Regions from separate parts of the Homo sapiens genome. Here region 1 is linked to region 2. The links are contacts of gene promoters, found by promoter capture Hi-C in blood cells and fetal thymus (Javierre and others, 2016). All regions are on one chromosome and are shown on one strand. Each heading gives the region's core, a stretch centred on a gene start or on the middle of the fragment in contact. The rest is flanking DNA. Distances are from core to core; before and after follow the strand shown. Region 1 overlaps LINC02733 (long intergenic non-protein coding RNA 2733). Region 2 holds the start of MYRF-AS1 (MYRF antisense RNA 1).

Evidence for each region. The method cuts DNA at HindIII sites, captures the fragments that hold promoters and counts their contacts. A CHiCAGO score of 5 or more calls a contact.
Region 1: a fragment that was not itself captured here is called in contact with the fragment with the promoter of MYRF-AS1 in region 2 in 1 of 17 cell types (neutrophils); the score reaches 5.4 in neutrophils.

What each region holds. Positions count from the first base shown.
Region 1 is chr11:62,064,526-62,067,225 of GRCh38, reverse strand. The region is part of intron 1 of LINC02733 (long intergenic non-protein coding RNA 2733); the gene reads left to right. Among named protein-coding and RNA genes, the nearest start is that of LINC02733, 16 kb to the left of the region's middle. The HindIII fragment of the contact is 8,726 bases long and covers 1-2,700 here.
Region 2 is chr11:61,756,414-61,759,113 of GRCh38, reverse strand. MYRF-AS1 (MYRF antisense RNA 1) reads left to right here and starts at 1,450. Exons shown (of 4, transcript NR_026882.1): 1 at 1,450-1,625; 2 at 1,751-2,031. All of the region lies in intron 1 of MYRF (myelin regulatory factor), which reads right to left. RefSeq lists enhancers at 1,066-1,709, 2,220-2,269, 1,710-2,353, 2,354-2,700, 1,863-2,700. The HindIII fragment of the contact is 8,901 bases long and covers 1-1,585 here.

The sequences.
Region 1 (2,700 bases), core at 87-2,586, 310 kb before region 2:
CAGCCTTTGTTTTATCTACCTGGTATAGGTCGCATTGTGTCCCCTCAAAAGATATATTCAAGTCCTAACCCCAGTCCCTGTGAACATGATTTTATTTAAAAATAAGATCTTTTCTGGCTGGGCGCGGTGGCTCACGCCTGTAATCCCAGCACTTTGGGAGGCCAAGGCGGGTGGATCACAAGGTCAAGAGATTGAGACCATCCTGGCCAACATGATGAAACCCCGTCTCTATTAAAAGTATAAAAATTAGCTGGGCGTGGTGGCGGGTGCCTGTAGTCCCAGCTACTCGGGAGGCTGAGGCAGGAGAATCGCTTGAACCCAGGAGGTGGAGGTTGCAGTGAGCCGAGATCATGCCATTGCACTCCAGCCTGGGCGACAGAGCGAGATGCTGTCTCAAAAAATATAAAAATTAAAAAAAATAAGATCTTTTCTTTCCTTTTATGTTTTAGTTTTTTTTGAGACAGGGACTCACTCTGTCGCCCAGGCTGGAGTGCAGTGGCGAAACCTTGGCTCACTGCACTCTCCATCTCCCAGATTCAAGAGATCCTCCTGCTCCAGCTTCCCAAGTAGCTGCAACTATAGGCACGCACCACCACTCCTGGCTAATTTTTGTATTATTTTGTAGAGACAGACTTTCGCCATGTTGCCCACGCTGGTCTCGAACTCCTGGGCTCAAATGATCCTGCCACCTTGGCTTCCCGTAGTGTTGGGATTACAGGCATGAGCCACCACGCCCAGCCTGGAAATGTGATCTTTTTTAGCTGAGTTAAAATAAAAAAAGAAATAGGATCTTTACAGATGTAACCAAGTAAAAATAAGGTAATACTGGATTCAGGTGGGCTATAACTTCTTCTTTGTAAGAAGAGAGAAATTTGGTCACAGAGGCAGAGACACACACAGAAAGAACACAGCCATGTAAGATGAAGACAGAATCAGGGTGATGCAGTTACAAAGCCAAGGAATGGTATGGATAGCTGGCAACAACCAACAGCTGAAGACTCCTAATTGAGGAAGGAGTCTTGCCTGGAAATTTTGGACTTTTCACCTTCAAAGCTATGAGAGAATAAATCTGTGCTGTTTTGTTTGTTTGTTTGTTTGTTTGTTTGTTTTGAGATGAAGTTTTGCTCTTGTTGCCCAGGCTGGAGTGCAGTGGCGCAATCTCAGCTCACCACAACCTGTGCCTCCCAGGTTCAAGCAATTCTCCTGCCTCAGCCTCCCGAGTAGTTCAGATTACAGGCACCCGCCACCATGCCCAGCTAATTTTTGTATTTTTAGTAGAGACGGGGTTTCTCCGTGTTGGTCAGGCTGGTCTCGATCTCCCAACCTCAGGTGATCCACCCACCTCGGCCTCCCAAAGTGCTGGGATTACAGGTGTGAGCCACCACGCCCGGCCTAAATCTCTGCTGTTTTAAGCCACCCAGCTTGTGGCACTTTGTGACGGCACCCAGAGGACACTAATACAGTCCCTAAATATACCTTCCTTTGAACTCCTCTGGCATGCATCAACTGTGTGTGCAGTTGGATGCTGAACTAACCATAGAGACCAGCATGTATCTTCCATGTGCTTCTCACATTCCCACCACCAGCTCACTAAGGGCTGGATGTTGTCGTTTGGTGTCTTGGCATCACCCACAACAGTTTGTGGAGTGCTGGTGTGAGAGAAGTCCCCTTGTAAGTTGAAATTGAATGAAGAATGGAAATATCAACAGATCAACTGCTAGATAGGGGCTACAAGGCAATGACTCAGATTCATGATAGATCTAGGGGTCTTTGCTGCCTGTGAAAGCCCTGAGTTGATACAGATTTGGGTTTAATTTCGGCCTTCTCCATACTTTATCTTTATCCCTCAAATTCAGGCTTTAGCTGCTGTTCTCCAATTCCTCCAAGGCTGGACACTGTGGAAAGAGTTTTTAAGGCTTCTTCTCTGCCTGATACTTCTGGTCTGAGTGCTGGTGAGGGAGGCACCAAGATGGAGGGACGTTAAAGGGCTTTGTCCTTGATCCTCTCTTCATTTGCTCCATCGGTAGGTGGGTATCCAAGTCTGGTGGTGTTCATCAGGGCCTTCCCAGGCAAAGGAGGAAGGAACATTGGAAGAGAAGATCAAGGGGGAGAAATAGCCCACAAGAAAGCAGAAGAAATAGGCTGGGCGCTGTGGCTCATGCCTGTAATCCCAGCACTTTGGGAGGCCGAGGTGGGTGGATCTTCTGAGGTTGGGAGTTTGAGACCAGCTTGACCAACATGGAGAAACCCCATCTCTACTAAAAATACAAAATTAGCCAGGCGTGGTGGCAGGTGCCTGTAATCCCAGGTACTCCGGAGGCTGAGGAGGAGAATCACTTGAACCCAGAAGGCAGAGGTTGTGGTGAGCCAAGACCAGGCCATTGCACTCCAGCCTGGGCAACAAGAGTGAAACTCAAAAAAAAAAAAAAAAAAAAAAAAAGGAAAAAAGATAGCAGAAGAAATAGAAAGCTCCAGGGAAAAGTGAAAACTTCAGAGCTGGTTAGTTGGTGTGACATTATGATACATATGTATTGGTTCTCACCCATGGTTTCTGGCTCATAACTCCCATAGCCCTTGTCATAGTCTTTTGTGATAATATTGGGGTGTTTTAGGCCTCTGACCCAGCCTCAGAAAACAGAATCTCTCTCCCTGACCTTCTCCTGCCCTCCTTTTACCTGCTCCTTTTTCTCCCCAAGGCAG
Region 2 (2,700 bases), core at 201-2,700:
ACCTGTGCCCATCTGTGCCTACACACCGGCGTGGCCCCACGCAGGCACACTGCCAACACACACACATATATGTAAGGGCACACCCTGCAGTCAGGTATCCACTGACATGCGCATGATCACGTACCACCTGCCCCCTACTCACACATACACAGTACTGACACACAGTGGCATGCCCCACACATATACCCACACACATGCGCACACCAGCGTTCATCCGTGTGCCTTCATTCATTCAGCAGTTATTTACTGAGCACCTGTTATGTGCCAGGCAAGCATAGTGCCCAGCTTTGGGGCTACAGCAGTGAGCAAAAGGGACAAAAGCCTTGCCCACATGGAGCTGACATTCTAGGGAGCAGAGTCAGATGACGAGAGCAGCAAAATGCCTAGCATTCTAGAAGGTTCCAGATGGCGGGGACAGCCGGTGCAAAAGCCCTGAGGTACGAGCATGCCTGTGCATGTTCACACCTCAGCACACTTCACAGGTGTATATGCCAGGACACGCATGTACACAAACACTCACTGACCCGACGACAGGCCCAGGCCCACAGGCACAGCGTCACATGCATGGGTTAGGTTAGTGGCCACCCAGGAAGAGCTCCCACCTCCTCTTCTTCCCTCCAAGCCCCCTCCCCGCCTGCTGTCAGACCCTCCCTAAGCAGCTCCGGCTGGAGCCAGGCCCCACTGAGTGAACTCAGTGTCACAGGCACAACTTCCCTCCTCCAAGCTAGCAGGGCAGGGGATGGGGATCCCCTTGCCCCAGCCATAGAGGGAGAAGAGAGGGGAGTGAGGGAGGCCGGAGGGAGATAGGATCCTCAAACTCCACAAAGGAGAGACAGAGGCTGTGGTTGTGCACTCCGGTGGCTGCACGGACCCCGGTCAGCTGGAGGGAGAACTTCCCTCACTGATGCGACCTGGGGCACAGGGAGGACAGAATGTCCGGGAGCCCCCTCCATACTCTAGGCCGGCAGGGGGCTCCGGACCCAACTGTACTCCCCACCCAGGGGCTTTGCCCCTCCCCCCCTCACTCCAGGCCTTGGCACTCGTGGGATCTAACTGCTAACATCACCCAACCTTGACCATGTGAGTGAGGGCTCTGAGGTCTAGAGAGGTCAAGGAGGCTGCACGGACATCACCTGGCGTGGCCACCCGTGCTGGAGCCACCCCTCAGCATGTCAGGAGGAGAGGCCCCTTCCCTGCCCATCCCAGGCTGGCACAGAGCTGGGACCCAGGCTCCAGTCCCAGCTCTGTTGTGGCCACCTTGAGGGAGCCTGACACATCATCGCCTTCCTGTCCTGCCTCACAGTCCCCCTCAGAAATGGGAGGCCGTCACCCACGCTTCCACTGCACCCCAGGACTCCAGGAAGACAACGTGCAAAGAGCCTGGGTGCAGCAGATGAAGTCACAATACAGCCAAGCCCCTCCTCCTTGCTGGCAGCAAGAACAGAACCCAAATCTCAGAGGGGGAGGTGGGGCGGGCCCCACTGGATGTGCCAGGGACCAGGACCAGGCCACGCTGGGCCAGAGCTGTCATGGTTCAGGCCTTGCACACAGAACCACAGAACATGCTCAACAAGCCCCCTAAGCTTAGGGGCACTGACCTACCCTGGGGACCAGTAATCTTCAAGGTAGGGCGCAGAACACCTGCCATGGACCAATGGAGTGTTCACCAGGCCAGGCACAATCTTACCTAATCACCCCAGAAACCCTGGGACGGAGGCCCTGCCATTACAACTGCACTCCCGTTTTACAGATGAGAAAGCGGAGGCACAGCGGTGCCCTGATACGGCCAAGAGAAGCACTGTGGGTAAGCAGGAGAGCTAGGAACAGACCCCAGCTGCCCTCGCTGGCGAATGCACAGAACCATTACATCATCCTACCCCGAGACCCAACCAAGAGGTACCCACACCCCGTGGCAGCCGGGGCTGAAGGCCTGGAGATAGGAGAGGAGGCCCCACATACTCCAGCACCCAAGGCAATGAGAGAAACTGAGGCCCAGGAAGGTGCTAGGTCCGTGAAGAGGAAGGTGGGAAGGTAAGGCAGGCTGCCTGGGTAGGGCGGGGCCACCCAGTTAATGATTCAGTTAATAATTTCTGCTCCCAGTTCCTTATCAGGGAGGGCAAAGTCCAAGGGTGGCAGCCAATGAGCAGCTCTGCTGGGCTGTTACCCAGCAGCCTCTGCTGCCAGGGCCCTCCAGTCTGTAACCCCTTGGGAGTTGGTAATTGGGGAGTCAGGCCCCCAGGGAAAAGGCCATTCTGCCCTCAAATGCCCTCCTTGGCTCTACTTAAGACCCCAAGGAGCACTCTGTCCAGCCTTCCAGTCTCAGGAGAGTCCCTGAGGCCAAAGGGTTGGTAACTGCCTGTTTCTCACCCCTGCACTGACCCCAGGCCCTCCAGAGAGGTGCTTTCTGGGGTGCGTCCCCCACCCCCGCCGCCTCTGTTCACATACCCATTGTTGTCACCATTGACCCGGAGAGCACTTCCTGCCCACCCCCCACCCCTGCCCTGCACTGGGTGCTGGGGACATGGGGATGAGTCAGACCCCCTACTACCATTTCCTCCCCTGCCTGGGCTCAGGAAACCCTGTGCCTGGCCACCCCTCCCATCTACTTACTCCCTGGGTGCACCAGGGACAGACAGAGACAGGCTGACACGGGCCACAGTGCCACCCCCATCACGAAGCCCAGCTCAGCCCCCGGATTCC